Regions from separate parts of the Homo sapiens genome. Here all the other regions are linked to region 4. Evidence: promoter capture Hi-C in 16 types of primary human blood cells and fetal thymus (Javierre and others, 2016). All regions are on one chromosome and are shown on one strand. Each heading gives the region's core, a stretch centred on a gene start or on the middle of the fragment in contact. The rest is flanking DNA. Distances are from core to core; before and after follow the strand shown. Region 1 holds the start of ZNF649 (zinc finger protein 649). Region 2 holds the start of ZNF613 (zinc finger protein 613). Region 3 holds the start of ZNF175 (zinc finger protein 175). Region 4 has its middle 17 kb from the start of ZNF331. Region 5 holds the start of ZNF350 (zinc finger protein 350). Region 6 holds the start of ZNF615 (zinc finger protein 615).

Region 1 (3,086 bases), core at 518-3,017, 1.6 Mb before region 4:
ATGTGGGCATACTTGATTAAAACACTAACCACTGGTGATCAACTCAACCTTCAACTTCCCTGTTGCCAGGCAGAGCTAAAATTTCCAACCCTCAAATGACATGGTTAGTTGCCCTGGCAACCAGCCTCCCCCGTCCTAAGGCCAGCCAGAAGCCCCCAGTCACCAGCCATCTCAATGCCACACAAAAAGGCACTGTTTACTGAAGAGGTTCCAAGGCTTTTGGGAGACATGTGCCAGGAAACAGGACAAAGATCGATTATACATTTCTTATAAATCGTAACAATCATAGCTAGGCGCGATGGCTCATGCCTATAATCCCAGCACTTTGGAAGGCCGAGGCGGGCAGATCACCTGAGGTCAGGAGTTCAAGACCAGCCTGGCCAACGTGGTGAAAGCCTGTCTCTACTAAAAATACAAAAATTAGCCGGGCGTGGTGGCGGGCGCCTGTAATCCCAGCCACTCGGGAGGCTGAGGCAGGACAGTCGCTAGAACCCAGGAGGCGGAGGTTGCAGTGAGCTGAGATCGCACCACTGCACTCCAGACTGGACAACAGAGCTAGATTCCGTCTGGGGGATAGGAGGAAACTTTGATCCCCAAATGCTCAAGGAGACTGATGCTTAAGCAAACTAAATATTGCCTGAGAACGACTCCATACTTCTATATTTGAGTCCTTGTGGATAAACTGCAACCTAGCTTAACAGACAAAATTGAAAACCGAACTTAATCGTATGCACCTGTAACAATAGCTGAGTGGTGGCCAGTCCCAGCGGCCATACTCATAGACTGCTGAATGTTCCAACTGCGTTCAAATAAGGCAAACGCCGAATGGTAACCAATCTCACTGTTTCTGGACCTCGCTTCCGATTCCTGTATGTCACTTTACCTTTTTTGTCTATAAATTTGTTCTGACCACGAGGCACCCCTGGAGTCTCTGTTAATCTGCTGTGATTCTGGGGGCTGCCCAATTCGCGAATCGTTCATTGCTCAAGGAAACTCCTGTAAATTTAATTCGGCTTCAATTTTTCTTTTATCACTGATTTGAGTAATAATAAAACTCCGGTCTCCCCGCACAGCCGGCTCTGCATGAATTGCTCTTTCTCCATTGCAATTTCCCTGTCTTAACAAGTCGGCTCTGTCTAGGCAGCCGGCAAGGGTGGGCGGTTATAGTTTCACAACTCAACCCCAGCCAGGGGCCTGGGCTTGTAAAATACCAGATTTTACAAGCCTCTGAGCCCCACATGCCTGGGCCTCCCCGAAACACTTAACACACATCCCCGATTCACCCCAAAACCTACACCACACACCCTCGTACGCTGCCCAGCACCCCGGCTTCATCACCGACTTTAAACTGCAGCATTTGGAGTGATAATAATGGCGTCGGTGATAAAGCCGGCGTGCTGGGCAGCGTCCCCCTAGAGTTCTCCATCCAGTGATCCAGAGGCCTACTAACAGAGTGACCCTCAGAGACCCCAAACTCTGACGCCGAGTCTCAGTCGCTGAACTCGACAGACCTTTAACGCCCGACCACAAGAACTCTCCCACGCCGGACCGCAAAGGCACCCCAACCCAAAGGCTCCACCGCCCAGGCCGCCAGCTCTCCCCACAGGCTCCTCAGAAGCTCCCTACCCCTTTAACCTACTCCACGGAGAGACCCAAACACTCACCTGATTTTCTTCTGGCTACACCTAAATTCCCTGAATGCTTCCTTTCCTGGCCCTTAAACCCCGGCACTGGCCTATGGCGGCGGACGAGGGCGCGAGTCAATTCTGCCGCGCTAGGACGATGGGACATGGGCTTCTCTTCGAGGAGGTAACATGTCCGCGCCCTGAGCCACGGCTCTCTGGGCGCGGCCATCTTGGTAGATCTGCCGTACAGAAGGGAAACAGTTGTTCTTGTGTCATTAAACCGGGATGACTCTCCTGAAAGCAAAAATTTGAGGCGCAGGAGCATTTTCTAGAGTTTATCTGAACAAACAGCAATTCATGAATTAGGAAGCATCAAACCAAAAGAAGTCTCGCGCTTCTATGCTTAAAGCATTAGACACAAGTATTCACAGGGTGAGTGAAGGAGTAAAACAAAGAAATTATTTGATTAGTTACAATTATAAAAATGCATTTTTTTAAATTTGCCTTGGAAAGTCCCTAATGACATAATAGCATGTGAGTTGCCTACTTTTGATCGGTTGAGATTGAGTTTTGTCCTTCCCTAACACAAGCATTTACCAGAAATGACTCAAGTGAATTGTTGCTTATGTTTGCAGGTTAAGCAAGGTTAAGGCTGTTTTTAAGGCCTACTGGGTTTTGTTTGCTCAGGAGTTTTTGAATTCTGGTCTGCATTTTAATTTTGCTTTGACACAGGAGACAGTGAAATGGCACTGATGTGTTCCCTCTCCTGACACCTCAACCCCTGCACTGTGAGGTTGGAGCACTAACAACAGTGCACTGTGGGGAAAAGAAAGAGAGATCAGACTGTTACTGTGTCTATGTAGAAAGAAGTAGACATAAGAGACTCCATTTTGTTCCGTACTAAGAAAAATTCTTCTGCCTTGAGATGCTGTTAATCTGTAACCCTACCCCCAACCCTGTTCTCACAGAGACGTGTGCTGTGTTGACTCAAGGTTTAATGGATTTAGGGCTATGCAGGATGTGCTTTGTTAAACAAATGCTTGAAGGCAGTATGCTTGTTAAAAGTCATCACCACTCTCTAATCTCAAGTACCCAGGGACACAATACACTGCGGAAGGCCACAGGGACCTCTGCCCCAGAAAGCCAGGTATTATCCAAGGTTTCTCCCCATGTGATAGTCTGAAATATGGCCTCGTGGGAAGGGAAAGACCTGACCATCCCTCAGCCCGACACCCGTAAAGGGTCTGTGCTGAGGAGGATTAGTATAAGAGGAAGGAAGGCCTCTTGCAGTTGAGACAAGAGGAAGGCATCTGTCTCCTGCTCGTCCCTGGGCAATGGAATGTCTCGGTATAAAACCCGATTGTATGTTCCATCTACTGAGATAGGAGAAAATCGCCTTAGGGCTGGAGGTGAGACAAGCTGGCGGCAATACTGCTCTTTAATGCACCGAGACGTTTATGT
Region 2 (2,928 bases), core at 282-2,781, 1.6 Mb before region 4:
ATTGTTCAGTAGTATTCCAGGGTATGATTACACTGCAATTTGCTTATACATTCATGTACTGATGGACACTTGGACTGTTTCCTGTTCAGGGTATTATGCATAAAGGTGCTAAGAACATTCTTGTGAGTCTTTGTGAGGACATATCATTTCATTACTGTTGTATAAGTATCTAGGAGTGGAATTCCTGAGTCATAAGATTCTTGCTTTTATTTTGCAATTCTCCTAAGGAGTCATATAGTTCTGTAAAGCTTTTCACTCTTCACAGATTTGATATTTTAAGTAACACGGTATGTTTCTGAAATGGAGTTTGCATTTTGGGGCATTTTCTATAGATGTATCATGAAGGACACGTGAAAACTCTGTTATAAATATAAACACTCCACTGCATGCAGGAATTTCCTTCTCATTCTTCCAATGGAATTGTCTTAATTTAGGTTGGATCAGAATTAGAATTTACGTTATGATGACTATGTAAATAATATTTATAGGTCAGTCAGGTAGTATCCTATGATTACTTTTCTTGCACAACTTTTTTTTTTCTTTTTTCTTTTTTTCCTCATGAAGGGGTTGCCAAGGCTGTGTAGTGCAGTGGCTATTGATAGGTGCGATCATAGCTCACTGCAGCCTGGAACTCCTGGGCTCAAGCGATCTTCCTGCCTTGGTCTCCCCAGTAGCTGGGACTACACGTGTGCGCCATCGCGCCCGGGCTTGCACAACTTTTCATTCTCCCAGAGTCGCCTTATTTATTCCTTCCAGAATTTTAGGCACTTGGTTCTCCGAAAGCCCCGACGTTAAGATTGACTCCACCTACAGCAGAGGGAAGGCCCTTCTTCTCTCTTAAGGAAAATTCCCGCCTCCCGCATTGGATTCCTTTTCCGGTTGGCTGGTGGCTGCTCTCTTTACCTGCACTGGGCGGTGACCGTGTCCCTCAAATGTAAATGAGGTTCCAGGGGTCGCTGTTTTTTCACTTTCCGTTGACGGGGTGAACAATATCCTCGTACCTCGATTGCCTCTCCACACCCTTTTGGTCCTCAAAAATCTTCCTCTTGTCCTCCACATGTAGCTAGATGCGTTTTCGCGGTATATGACTCAGGGTGCGATTGCTCTTTTTCCTCTGTGGAGAAAGCGTTTTCACTTGTACGGACACCTAAGTGTTAAGATGGCCGCGCCCATTGTGTCATTCCCGTCATTCTTTGTGCAAAGCGGATGACTTTTCTCCCCAGCCCGCTAAGGTGCACGTAGCCATACCATGTTTGTCTTGGCTAAGCTCGACCCTCTGAAAATAAATGAAACTTGGGCGCAGGATTTAGGTGCCAAAATATGGAGTTCTTCACCGTCCCGCGCTATCCCTGAATACTTGGGCAGAAAAGGTCCACTTTACCTTCCGTACGTGCAGGATTCAAAGATGGCTGCCTCCAGTATCCGTGACGAGAGGACGCGAACTTACTACCTCCCAGTCGTCCGTGCTCCGTACACCTGCAACTTCAGACCTTCCTCGGCCGCCGTAGGCCGGCTTGGAGGCTGGGGGAGGGCCCAGAAGTGGAATAATTCAGGAAAGTGCAGGTTCTGGGAAGTCTCGGTGGGTTCCCCGCAAAATCAGGTCTGTGTGTGGGTCTGTCTGTCAGGATGAGGGGAGGAGGGTGTCTGTGGGCGTCCGTTTAGTGCGGAGCCGTGGAGTTTGTGGGGGAAGCGGGAGCAAGTGGGAGTCGGGGTATTGGGGTTGGGGCGTCTCCGGAGTCAGCCCTGAGGGATCCCAGTGGTCGGTGGTCAGAGTCTGTCCAGAGCAACACTTGGAAGTCCGTGATCAGGGTTTGGTGCCTTTGCGGGTCACTCTGTAGGGCTCGGTGATTGAGGACTGGAGTGAGGAGTGGTTTTTGTCAAGGAAAACTGTGTCTGCTTCGGATTCGGGGTTTTATTTTTTATTTTTGAGACAGGGTCTCGCTCTGTCACACAGGCTTGAGTGCAGTGGCGCAATCGTGGCTCACTGCAGCCTCCATCTCCCGGGGCTCAGGTGATTTTCCCACCTCAGCTTTCCCGAGTAGCTGGGACTACAGGTGAGCGCCACCACGCTATCTATCTATCTATCTATCTATCTAATCTGTCTAATCTAATCTATCTATCTATCTATCTATCTATCTAATTTATCTATCTAATCTATCTGTTTATTGCAGAGACGGGGGTCTCACTATGTTGCCCAGGCTGGTCTCCAACTCCTGGCCTCAAACGATCCTCTCACCTTGGCCTCCCAAAGTGCTGGGATTACGGGCGTGAGCCTTCGCTCCAGGCTGTAATCAGGATTTAATATGCGACTCAGTGAGGAGGAGCCCGGGTTCATGTGAACCTAGGTGTGTGGTCCAGGTTTTTGGATTAATCTAAGGGGGTGTGACCATGTTAGGGAGGTCTAGATGTGACAGTCGTGGAGAAGCTTGTGAAGGCTGAAGCCTTGGCAGCCAGGGCATCCTGATTGGTGTGTGTGTTCAGGTCCAACGGTACATTCCCTCTCAGTCCCTTTTAAGTTTCTCTGCAAGGACTGGTTTACAAATCTCATTTGACTTCTCACATCTCTCCTTTCTCTCATCCTGGTAAATAGGAAAGCTTTGGGGAAGATCAAAGATTAATCAAATCTAAAATGGTAAGGTGGCCTGGCGCGGTGGCTCACGCCTATATTCCCAGCATTTGGGAGGCCAAAGTGGGCGAATTGCTCGAGCCTAGAAGTTGGAGATCAGCCTGAACAACATAGCCTGTCTCTCCAAAAAATACAAATATTAACTGGGTGTGGTAACACACGCCTGTAGTCTCAGCTACTCGGGAGGCTGAGGTGGGACGATCACGTGACCCCGGGAGTTCTAGGCTGCAGTGAACTATGATTGAGCACTGCACTCCAGCCTGGGCAACAGAGTGAGACCCTGCCTCAAAAAAAAAAAAAAA
Region 3 (2,912 bases), core at 404-2,903, 1.9 Mb before region 4:
AAGTTCCCATAGATTTTAATATCATAATCTAATAATAGAGATAAGTCCCATAACTTTTGCCATATTCTGTTGGTAAGAAGCAAATCTCAGGTTCCGTTTGCACTCAAAGGGATGGATTTGTACAAGGTGTGACTCAGTAGGTGTCACCTTAGGGTATGCCTGCCCCACTAAGAGTATGAGGGCGCAGTTACCCCTCATCCTACAGATATACAGATGTCCCAGTGGAGGGACGCCTTAACTTGCCCTGAACATACACATGCGGGGCTGTTGTACTTAAAGCCTCCTACTTCTATCTCAATTTTCACTCTCTGCATTTTCCTTTTTTTAAATAAAATGTACCAAAGCCGTAGGGTAAATCCTATGACACAGTAAAGAATAGTCTCAGATTTATAAGTGGAGAAAATTCAAAAGTTCTAAGTCCGGGGAATTTCTTAGTAACTCAAACAAAATGTCACACTTTCTCACATAATAAAGATAAGTGTTTTTATTGATTTTACACTATTTGCTTACAGTAAATATATAATTGATGTTTTAAAATAAAAGCAGGTTTCATGCTTCATGTAACAAAGTTAGGTTCAGATACTAATGTGAAAACTCAACTATTCCTGGGAAACCATGTTCAAAAAAATGCTTCATTGGCTAAGCAGTCTTATTTTATTATTCAAATGGACTAAAAATGAGGTATGAAGTAATTAAAAGTAATATGGTGGCTTTAAGTGCAGAGATGGGGTGGCAGAAGCTGTGAACACAGAATGTAAAATCGGTAACTACAAAATGGCACAAACTACGAAAGCAATATATTTAAATTACTATTTTTTAAAAAAGAAGGATCATTTCAGATCTTCACCTTCAGATCCTCACTCAGCCCTGCCTCCTATTTCCCATAATCAGCCATTTTTTTAATTTTATGATTGCTATTACTCACCTTCTAGAATATATTTTTGTTTATTTGATTGAACAACCTCTTCCTGAAAATTCTGCCCAGTTGGGCTGGCTGACATTGATCTCAGTAATTGTGTTTTTTTCCTTTAACTTGATTATATTTTTTTCATTCGCCTCTCTTTAAATGAAGTGTCCCAAGAGCCCTAAATTCTCTCTTCAGGTGGTCGCTTGGTAGGTTACTTCATCAATAGGTTCATCCAGGTATAGAGAGCAATGGTGTAAGGATAACAAAGATACAATTTCTCAGAAAGATAACATTTTCAAAAGTGCTATTAAAGACAGTGAGTTGTTCAGCAATTCAGGAAAAAAAAGTCTTTAAATCAGAGGGAAAAATATAGAGAAAAAGTATTTTTCAGAATACATGTCAGTTTCTCCTAGAAATATATATACACAAGTATTGAATAGGTCCCCTGCCAATGTAGGACCCAAGACTTTTACTCTGTGACATTCCATTTGTCCTTGGCTGTACGGAATAAAAGCCCTTTGACGATGGCGGCCTCCAATATCATAATCCGTATGGGTGCGGCCATGCCGTCCTCCCTACCAAGTTTCTGAAGTTGAATGAACCGCGGAATAAAGGTACGCCGTTATACGCCATGATAACTGTTGGCGGAGCGTAGCTTCAAAAGTGTTAGTGGGCATGCGCGCGGTTCAACAGCGCCTACGGAAATCCTAACGGGAATGTAACCCAAACCGGAAGTGGCCTAGAGCGACCATTTAGCTTCTGTTGTTAAGTGGATCTAAGCCTATGTCGCTTACTGGACGCTGAAGTGATTGGGAATATTAGCAGTGGGGGTTCTGTAGGGTCAGGAAGGGGCGGCTGGCTTTGGGGGAGTGATGAGGGGCTTGTTGGGGGTGGGGGTGCGTGATAAAGGGATTTCTCGGCTGAAGACGAGGCTGTGAGGTGAGTGACGGGCTTGTTTTGGCTGAGCGATGAGGGGTTTCTGGGGTGGGTGATGGGTGCTGTGGGGTAAGTGGCGTTTGCTAATTTTAGTTGGATAATTAGCCTGTTAATTTTCCCTCTTTTCTTGCTTATTTTCTGCTTGTAGTATTTTTGTGACTTAAATTCCAAGTGTACTTTAATATCGGATTTTATATTGGTCCACGAAACTTGCTAACTTGAGGACAGTGAACGTGCATCTTAAGAGCGCCTTTGCGGATGGTGCTGGAGGACGTTCAGGGAAGGGATTCACTGTCCGTGGGACTAGGGGAGTCAGTGATTGATTGGCAGCCAAGAGCTTCAGAGGTTGGAGGACTTTGAGGATCACACTGTAACACTCTCAGGGGACCAGTGATGGGCAACCTATAGGAATCAGTAGAGTGGGGTTGCCAGGGGTAGCCTATGGCAGCCAGTTGACTGGAGGCGTAGGGGGTCAATGATGGGGATTTGTGAGGGTGAATGCATTGCTTTCTAGGCAGTGAGTGTTGGGGTCCTTCAGGGATTGGTGGGTGGGTCAGTGTTGGCCTCTTCTTGGGTCCCTTGGACATGGTAAGGATCAGTAATTGACAGTTGAGCACATCGATGATGGTTTCCTATTGGGGCATTTCATTTGGACCCCTATGTTGGGGATTATTTGTCGTTTTATGGAAACCAGAAAATTGTGCTCGCTGGGAAACATTTCTTGGCTATCAGGGCAGTAAAGATTTCAGAAGCCTGTGCCATGTCAGTGACTGGGAGGCATTTTGGAACTTTCTGGCAGCCCTGTAGTACACTCATTGGGGATTTCTGAAAGTCAGTCCTGTCAGTGATTGCATTCAGGTGCGGTGGGGGCAACTTATTGTGGACAGGCAAGAAATGGTAACTGGAGGCCCTGATGCATGTCTGCAAATTTTCTGTGTCAAGATGGGGATTGGGACAGTGATTTTAAGTTTTAGCTCTAGTCAGAAGAGGCTGGTCTGTGTGTGGTGTATTATGGACGGGGACTGAAAAGTCCAGAAGCTCAGAATAGGTACACCAGACAGAGCCACCT
Region 4 (3,035 bases), core at 469-2,968:
CACCTGACCACAAGGCGAACAAAGACCCAATTAAAGAAACATTCTCATCATGTCCTACTGGGCAAAGGCCCAACTACAAAAACCATCCCTATCATATCTTTCTTGGCAAAGGTCCAAGGAACATCCTGATGAGATCCCACCGGAAAAAGGGCCAAACCGCCTGATCATAAGAACATCTTGTCAATATCCTGCCGGGCAGCAAGCCATACAGCCCAGGCCTCTCCCGCCCATACCAAGGTAACACTCACAGAGACATCTGAAGAGCCAGGCAGTGCTCCCAAGTCTGGGACAGCATCAGAGAACGAAACGCAAAGTCCTGCCCTTACAGAGAGAGCCTTGGCACAGACCCAGTCAGGACCAGGTCACTCCCGTGGAACCTACTCAAGGTCCCTACACACATGCCTGGAGCTCCCCAATCTACTGGGGGGTGGGGGAAAGGGCAGTGCTGAAACGTCCCCAAAATCTCACATGTAAACACCCTACCTAACACTTTCTAGAGGCATTTCCAGCTCGGGGCTGTATTTCCAAGAACGCTCTGGAGGCACAGCTCTTTTCTAAGGAGGGCCATGTTGCATGCTGGGAAATTTTTGAACTTTTCCCAAATCACAGCTTTTAAGCTTTCCGGGCTTATTATTATTATTATTATTATTTTGAGACATTGTTTCACTCTTATCGCCCAGGCTGGAGTGCAGTGGTGTGATCTCGGCTCACTGCAACCTCTGCCTCCTGGGTTCAAGCGATTCTCTTCCCTCAGCCTCCCAAGTAGCTGGGATTACAGGCACACACCACCACGCCTGGCTAATTTTTGCATTTTTAGAGCGATGGGGTTTCACCATGTTGGGCAGGAGGGTCTCGAACTCCTGATCTCAGGTGATATACCCGCCTCGGCCTCCCAAAGTGCTGAGATTACAGGCGTGATTTCTGGTCGTTTCAGACTACATTTCCTTCCCAGAAGGACGCGGGGACACGCCTTCCCTATGGACGGATCCCAAATGCAAGTTGTAAGCAATTATAACTGTAGGCCCCTAGAGCCTGAACCACTTTTCCCAGGAATTTTTTGTGGTGCGCCTTAGGAGCAAGCAAAGTTTCAGGGCAGGAGAAGGCCGACAGGGCTTCCAGCATTTGAAGATTCTGCCAGTCTGAAATACGCTTTCCCAGAAGTCTATGGGGGGTGCAGCTGCTCTAACAGTGGGAGGAGACACCGACGAAAAGCATTCTGACGGCCGCGCTTCCAGCGCTAAGGATTCCCGCGTAGTGAGCATTTCCCAGAGGTCTCTGGGGCATGGCTCCATTAGGGCCGTGTGCAGTTGCCTGCAGGGAAACACTGATGGGCGCCCTTCCAGATACGTCGATTCCCGGGTTATGAGCTACATTTCCCAGAAGCCCTCAAGGCAGGACGCCCTTAGGGTCGCGTAGAGTTGCATGCTGGGAAATCCTGACAGCCGCTTCCAACTCTGTGGATTTCCGGGTTATGGACTACATTTCCCAGAGGCCTCTGGGTCACGGCTCCATTTGCGCCGTGTAGAGTTGCATGCTGGGAAACACTGACGGGCGCCCTTCCAGCTGCGTCGAAGCTTCTCTGGTTTCGCATTACATTTCCCAGAGGGCCTTGGGGCACAGTCCAATGAGGAGCGAGCCGGGTGGCCGGCTGAGGGGCGTGCTTCATGCTCGCGGGATTTTTAAAAATGGTTTCTCCTGGATCTTATCCCAACTGCGCCTGAGACCTTGTTTCACCTCCTGATGTGCTGGGTGTGGTTAGGCCTCGAGCCGGGAGCTATTTGCCTCCCAGGAGGAAGCCAGGGCAGGGTTCCGCGGGGAATGGCGGTGAGGGAGCCACTCGGGACGCGGAGGCCCTAAAATGAAGAAGCTTCGGCCTGAGGCTTCGGGAGCGGCGAGCAGGGAAGTGGGAGTGTGTGTGAGTGTGTGTGTGTGTGTGTGTGTGTGTGTGTGAATAAGCCAGAGGCTGCCTGGTGGGGCCCCGCCGTGGCCCAGTGACTGAGATAATTGTCTTCGTCTGTGGGGTAATGCGAACAAGCCCCGTTCCCCTAAGCCGTGATGCATGCGGGGTTGACGCGGCCGGGCTCTGTCCCCATAAACTGTGACACAGGTGTGTGTAGACGTCTATGAGGGCCATAGCGCCGGGCTGTAAGGGCATCTGTAGGGGTGACGCAGCCGGGCTGTGTCTCTGCACCTCCGTTCTGTGCGAGGTCAATGCTGGTGGGGTCTGCAGAGGTGGCACGGCCAGGACGGGTCTCCGTGTCTCTGAAATGTGCCTTTGCACTTCTGTCAGGTTGACAGGGACAGGCAGTGTCCCTCTGGTGTGAGCGTCTGTGGGTGTGAAAGGGCCAGCGAGTGTGCGGCTGTGACTGGTCGGGATCGGGCCTGGGTGCATGGCCTTTTGAGTGAGCACAGGTGTGTGCGACCATGTCACCTGTCTTTCTAGTGTCTCCGTTGCTTCCTGTGCCTTGGCCTTCCAGCCATGTGGTACCTGCTAGGGAGCAGTGGTCCCAAAGTGACGTGAGAGGCTCTACGCTATTGTGAAAATGACCAAGAAGAAGGCTTCACAAGTCACGAGATGGCAGTTTTGGAGCCAGAAGTGCTCTCCGTGCACACTACCTGGACGACAAGAGGAAGTAACCTCAAGAATAGAATTCCTTTTGGGGAAGAAAGAGGTACCTGACATGGGAGGCGGGGAGGTGGTGAGAGGGGCAGCTCCATGTTTCAGAACCCCAGTTCCTAGAGTTTTCCAGCATTTCTCTGAAAAACTCACATGCCTGTGCCCTCTTATTTCTGATTGATTTTAACTGTGGTCTGGGGACAAGTGTGCCCTATTTTCTTTCTTTGTTTTTTTTTTTTTTGAGACAGAGTCTTGCTCTGTCGCCCAGGGCTGGAGTGCAGTGGTGCGATCTCGGTTCCCAGGTTCAAGCGATTCTCCTGCCTCAGCCTCCCAAGTAGCTGGGACCACAGGCGCACGCCACCATGCCCAGCTAATTTTTGTATTTTTAGTAGAGACGGGATTTCACCATGTTGGCATA
Region 5 (2,994 bases), core at 307-2,806, 1.5 Mb before region 4:
CGTCCACTAACACCCTATTTTCCTACTTTATACTGGAAAGTTGAGCCAATGCATTAAGATAAGAATGAATTATAAGCATTACAAAGTAAGACAGAAAATTAATGTTATTTTCAGGCGATATCATCACGAACATGGAAAAAGAGATTCAAGAAATTACATATTTAAAAAAGAAAATGCTCCCTCAGAAACTCCCAGGCAGATTTTCACATACATAGTTGGCTAGAATTGCACCATACGCCTAAGCTCATTTCCATGTCAAACCTATCACTAGCAATGGCAATTGGAACCAGCAAGATTGGCTAAGACCAACAAGGCCTTACTAAGAAACTGGGATTTGGGTCGCCTTGCCACAGGGATGAATACTTCACGAAATGGAGATTCTGTTAAGAAAGTGTGAATATAAGGCGGGCAAGCAACACTCACTATATATTAAGAAGTGAAGGCCGGGCGCGGTGGCTCACGCCTGTAATCCCAGCACTTTGGAAAGCCAAGGTGGGCGGATCACCTGAGGTCAGGAGTTCGAGACCAACCTGCCCAACGTGGTAAAACCCTGTCTCTACTAAAAATACAAAAACTAGCCGGGCGTGGTGGCGTGGGCCTGTAGTCCCAGCTACTCAGGAGGCTGAGGCAGGAGAATCGCTTGAACCCGGGAGGCGGAGATTGCAGTGAGCCGAGATCGCGCCATTGCACTCCAGTCTGGGAGACAAAAGTGAAACTCCGTCTCAAAAAATAAAAAAAATAAATAAAAAATAAAAGAAGTGAATGCAGAGGTTGGCAACATTTTCGATTTTGCCGGCCACGAGGTCTCTGTCACAACAACTCAACCGCTGCCTTTGCAGCCATAGACAATATATAATCGGAGGGTATGACTGAACTTGACCCCCCGATCTGTAAATAGCCACCCCAAGGATCAGAAGAGTAGATATATGGTTTCGAACTAATGCTGGGGGCTGTGTCGCCTTTTGCCCCAGTAACCGAGGTTCGAACCTCAACCCAGGACCCAGGGCTCCAAAGTCTCGAAAGCTTCAGCCCTCACAAGCCTTTGTACCACAGACACTGGCCCCATGCCTCTTACTCATCCGAACCACGGACCAGACACTCTACAGCGATGGACATCCTCCCAGACTCCAACATCACTGAGTTCCAAATTAAATCCTGAACCCGAAGCAGACGCCGCATCGATCCTAATCGCCACCTCCATCCTTTACAAGCAGAGTGATCCATACCTTGACAGTTAGGACACGGCCGTTGATCACTACAGACCCTTAGTCACTGTACTCACACCAAAGGCACGCGGACCACAGACAGGGGGATCACAGACTCCCACCAGGTACCTCCCAAATGCCTATACCCCGGCGCTCCCCAGTCTTCCTGCCAAAAACTATGTGGTCCAGGGTACACCACGTCCTCAGATCTCCCAAACCTTCCACTGAGACAAAACCTGAACTAGGACAAAAAACTTTCAGGGACAAAACCACACACTGACCTCTATTTTCTCCAGATACACAAGAAGGGCCTCAACGTTACACTTCCGTAAACTGCTCCTACTTCTGGAGTCCTCGCACGGGTTTATGGTCCACCTACGGCGGCCGAGGAGAACCTAAAATGTTTAAAAGAGCAAGGACAAGCGCATTTACGGCATTTCCTACTCTGTAAAATGGCCGCGCCCATAGCCGTGGCTCCTGACGGCAGCCATGTTTGAAAATTGGACGCACAGAAGGCAGTGGCAGGTTTTTGAGCCAGGAGCCAGGGAAGAAGAGAAGTCACTGAAATCGCCTCGTTTCCTGGCACTTAAAGTCTTGCGAAAGGGGGCAGATTTTCAGAGACTCAGGCTTTATCAGGCAAATATGGGGCAAGCTAAATTGCCTTTAGCGCTTTTCCATCCACTTTGTTAAATTTAAAAAAAAAGGTTTTGAAAAAGACAAGTAACAGTGCAGCCAGGTGTAGGTATCCCAGAGAATGAATTGGAAATGGAAAAGGTAACAGATCAGGTAGAAAGGGAAAAGGCAACACATCAGGTAGGCAGACACCCACGGGAAAGCGTCTGGCGAAAATTAGCTTGCAGGAAGCGGTTTTTAAGAACAGAAAAATAGCAGGTATTCGGGGGGGCGGGTGGTGAAGAAAGAAAAAAATTATAATTTTTTTTGAGACGGAGTCTTGCTCTGTCGCCAGGCTGGAGTGCAGTGGCGAGATCTGGGCTCACTGCAACCTCTGCCTCCCTGGTTCAAGCGATTCTCCTGCCTTAGCCTCCCAAGTAGCTGGGACTACAGGCACGCGCCACCACGCCCAGCTAATTTTTGTATTTTTAGTAGAGACTGGCTTTCACCATGTTGGCCAAGATGATCTCGACCTCCTGACCTCGTGATCTGCCTGTCTCGGCCTCCCAAAGTGCTGGGATTACAGGTGTGAGCCACCGCGCCTGGCCTCGAAAAAATGATTATTATTTACAAAAAAGAAGAAGAAGAAGGAGGAAGAGGAGGAGGAGAAGGAAGAGAAAAGAGGAGAAAAGAAGAGAAAAGAGGAGAGGAGAGGAGAGAAAAGAGATTTTGAGAATGAATTACGATGTGAGCCTGGCCACGACAGACTAAAGGAATTGGGCCTCCTAGAAAGGCCACTTTTAGTAAAGGTGCCAATGGGAAGAGCAGAGCCAGAATTGAGAGTATAAAAATATTGTTAAGAGTTTTTGACAAAAGTGCCAAGACAATTCAATAAGAATAGTCTTTTCAACAAGCGGCACTGGGATAATTGGATATCCACATCCAGAAAAATGAGTTAGGACCCTCAAACCATACACAAAAGTTAACTCAAAATAGATCATAGATCTAAGTTTAAGAGAAAGTATAAAACTTAGAGAAGGAAAAGGGAGATAATCCTCATGGACGTGAGTTAATTCTGAGAGGAGAGTAAAGGATGACCCACAAAACAAAATAAAATTAATAAAGTGGACTTGATTTTTTTTTAAGTTTGTGCTTCTAAACACAACATTTAAGAAAG
Region 6 (2,755 bases), core at 159-2,658, 1.5 Mb before region 4:
AATTTTCACAAAATAATATGTTAGGCAGAGAGAAAAATATTGTAATACTAAGAATTAAGATGACCAAATATAAAATAAATATTTAAAATTAATTTATCTTTTGTTATAGATTATAAGGAAAGGGGAGTCAGAAAGCAATACACTGCAATAAAAGTAATAGTCTAGATTGAAGATTAAAGGCAGGAAAAACAAAATTCATGGATAAATGGATAATCATAAAATGTTCCTAAAAATAATACCTAAACATTTTAAAACATTTCACTTCTATCCAAATGTACGCATAAACTTAATGTGAATGCACTTATAGTACCACCGGCTCAAACAGTAAAAACAACTTCTAAATGTTTATTACATAATATAAAGCGAAAAAGATAATAGTACCATTTACATAATTTATCTGAATTATGAATATTAAGCACATAACATACACGTCTAAAATTGAAATATTCTGAAAATTTGACAAAGGTTATCTTTGAGTAACCGAGCTTACCATGGCAGAGATGTTATCTTACTTGTGTCAGAAAGAACCTGAAAAGAAATATCCAAGAGGATACGCTGGAAACTTGCAGGACAAAGGGTAGAAGCCGCATCTTAAATATAAAACATACTACTTTTAGGTATGCTAGATGACTGATCTCGCCAAAAACTTCCATTTCTGAGGATTCAAGACCAAGGGGTGATGGAAGGTGCCAAAGGGGATTTAAAAACCAGTCGTGGAGAAGGGTCTTGGGCAGAAGGGGAATGCTAATGAGCATCAATTCTGTTCCAGCAGCCAGGGCTGGGGCTAACCCATCACCTGCCATGGTTCCCAGGCCTCCAGAGCTGCAGCCCACATCGGAATCTGTGGCGCTACCACCACCGCCACCGGGATTAATTCCAAAACCTGGATCAGAAACCTCCGTACCTTAACCCCCAAGACAGTTCCTCAATCATTTAGTCCCAAACAAAACCTGAACCATAAACCGATTCGCTGACAAAACAAACCCTCCAGTTCGCAATCACTGAGCCCCGCCAAAGGACAACACCAAAGACACCAGAATGTGACTTGGGCACTCAGTAGCGGATCTCTAGAGATCTTTAACCACAAACTACACGAGGACCCTGTGACTGGTCCCAGAGGTACCCCGATCACACACACACACACCCTATCACGGACCTCTTGTAGTTCCCCTGCGATAGGAATCGGACCCACGCTAAGCTCCTGAAAGAATTCCACTGGCGTCGCCAAACGCTGGCGCCGACAGATACCAGTCCATCACCACTGTCCACGAACACGCCCAGCCACGGACAGAATTTCCTCCCCCGTCACCACAGCGACCACCCAGTGACTGAACTTACTTCCCAGAACTTGGTGGGCTCCGGCCTCATCTCTCGGCCTCCTCAGTGCCTGACGGCGACTATCCAGGGTCGGAGGCGTTCCCAGCGTTTGCGCAGATGCAAGATGGCCGCGCCCTCGTCGCCTTGGCTCCATGGGGGCCGCCATCTTTGAGTATCTGACGTACACAAGGCAAAGGGCGCGTTTTGGCGCTGGTGACCGGGGGTGACCGGGGGTGACCGGGGATGGCCGGGAAGATGAAAGAGCACTGAAACTGTCCCATTTCCTGGCACCTCAACCCTTCATAAATACGGGTCCATATACAGAGGCTCCAGTTTACACAAGACAAAAATGGCGTGGAGGTAAATCCCTTTCAGCAGCTGAATAGAAGGCTAAGATGGCCGCGACGTTTACACTTTGTACAAAGGTTAGGAAACAGTTCCTTGTGAGGGAAAAGGAGAACCGGCCGAGAGGGGACACTTCGGCCAAAGCCAGATTTCTAACAAAGTAGCTTGAAGCGCCTTTTGAACGCAGAAGAGGGCTGTTAGCTACGCTGACGGAACAGGGGTAGCAGTCACAGACTAGGTAATGAAAACGGTTGGAACGTGCCAAAATTATGTTGGGTGAAAGGCATGGGGAAAAGCCAGTAAAAGCCAGAAAGTATAGTTCCCAAGGCGGAGGGGAGAGCCTGGGACCCAGGTGGAGCCAAATATGAGGGCTGGACTCAGGAGAAGTGGCCAGAAATTAAGGGAACAGGACCACTTCAGTGAGAAAAAAAAGGTTGGGAAAGAGGCCGGGCGCGGTGGCTCACGCCTGTAATCCCAGCACTTTGGGAGGCCGAGGTGGGCGGATCACCTGAGAGCGGGAGTTCGAGACCAGCCTGACCAACATGGAGAAACCCTGTCTCTACTAAAAATACAAAATTAGCCAGGCATGGTGGCGCATGCCTGTAATCCCAGCTACTCGGGAGGCTGAGGCAGGAGAATCGCTTGAACCCGGGAGGCGGAGGTTGCTGTGGGCCAAGATGGCGTCATTGCACTCCAGCCTGGGCAACAGGAGCAAAACTCCATCTCAAAAAAAAAACAAAAGAAAGAAAGGTTAAGAAGGAGATCACGTTATACTACGTGTGCCAACCGCGAATAGTATGTGCAAAGTCATGGCAATGCTGAACTGTAAATATAAATCCAACCAAACTTCCTATATTAGAAGAATGAGAGAAAGGAAATGCCTGTGTGAATCTATGTGTGTGATATAGGTATCAGTATATAAATATACAGAGAAATTGTCAAACTATTTTTCAGAGTCAAGTTCGTGTTCCATTTGCTCTTCTCACCCTTGGTATATGAGAGTTTTTCTTTTTTTTTGTTTTTTTTTTGTCTCTTTTTGAGGCAAGGTCCACTCTGTTGCCCAGTCTGGAGTGCCTGGGGAGATCACAGCTCA

Evidence for each region. Contacts are between HindIII fragments. The CHiCAGO score rates a contact against its expected background, and 5 or more counts as called.
Region 1: a contact is called between the fragment with the promoter of ZNF649 here and a fragment that was not itself captured in region 4, in 7 of 17 cell types (non-activated CD4 T cells, activated CD4 T cells, naive CD4 T cells and 4 more). The highest score is 16.5, in non-activated CD4 T cells.
Region 2: a contact is called between the fragment with the promoter of ZNF613 here and a fragment that was not itself captured in region 4, in 8 of 17 cell types (total CD8 T cells, activated CD4 T cells, non-activated CD4 T cells and 5 more). The highest score is 8.6, in total CD8 T cells.
Region 3: a contact is called between the fragment with the promoter of ZNF175 here and a fragment that was not itself captured in region 4, in 3 of 17 cell types (activated CD4 T cells, fetal thymus and non-activated CD4 T cells). The highest score is 8.1, in activated CD4 T cells.
Region 5: a contact is called between the fragment with the promoter of ZNF350 here and a fragment that was not itself captured in region 4, in 5 of 17 cell types (non-activated CD4 T cells, activated CD4 T cells, total B cells and 2 more). The highest score is 11.2, in non-activated CD4 T cells.
Region 6: a contact is called between the fragment with the promoter of ZNF615 here and a fragment that was not itself captured in region 4, in 1 of 17 cell types (non-activated CD4 T cells). The highest score is 7.3, in non-activated CD4 T cells.

Annotation. Positions count from the first base shown.
Region 1 is chr19:51,903,250-51,906,335 of GRCh38, forward strand. ZNF649 (zinc finger protein 649) reads right to left here and starts at 1,768. Exons shown (of 5, transcript NM_023074.4): 1 at 1,665-1,768. RefSeq lists enhancers at 1-446, 1,537-2,081, 1,800-1,919, 2,410-3,034. The HindIII fragment of the contact is 3,228 bases long and covers 1-3,086 here.
Region 2 is chr19:51,925,941-51,928,868 of GRCh38, forward strand. ZNF613 (zinc finger protein 613) reads left to right here and starts at 1,532. Exons shown (of 6, transcript NM_001031721.4): 1 at 1,532-1,600. RefSeq lists enhancers at 552-1,315, 1,171-1,470. The HindIII fragment of the contact is 2,177 bases long and covers 247-2,423 here.
Region 3 is chr19:51,569,630-51,572,541 of GRCh38, forward strand. It overlaps ZNF175 (zinc finger protein 175), which reads left to right and starts at 1,654. Exons shown (of 5, transcript NM_007147.4): 1 at 1,654-1,846. RefSeq lists an enhancer at 1,316-1,375. The HindIII fragment of the contact is 9,759 bases long and covers 1-2,912 here.
Region 4 is chr19:53,519,413-53,522,447 of GRCh38, forward strand. It overlaps a transcript of ZNF331 not described here. Among named protein-coding and RNA genes, the nearest start is that of ZNF331, 17 kb to the right of the region's middle. RefSeq lists enhancers at 312-1,086, 1,087-1,860, 1,351-1,550, 1,861-2,634. The HindIII fragment of the contact is 293 bases long and covers 1,573-1,865 here.
Region 5 is chr19:51,985,284-51,988,277 of GRCh38, forward strand. ZNF350 (zinc finger protein 350) reads right to left here and starts at 1,557. Exons shown (of 5, transcript NM_021632.4): 1 at 1,487-1,557. RefSeq lists enhancers at 1,022-1,897, 1,484-1,723. The HindIII fragment of the contact is 6,623 bases long and covers 1,022-2,994 here.
Region 6 is chr19:52,006,803-52,009,557 of GRCh38, forward strand. ZNF615 (zinc finger protein 615) reads right to left here and starts at 1,409. Exons shown (of 7, transcript NM_001199324.2): 1 at 1,339-1,409; 2 at 491-528. It overlaps LOC124904755 (a long non-coding RNA gene), which reads left to right and starts at 1,496. Exons shown (of 2, transcript XR_007067321.1): 1 at 1,496-1,677. RefSeq lists enhancers at 1,170-1,779, 1,840-1,919. The HindIII fragment of the contact is 6,775 bases long and covers 1-2,755 here.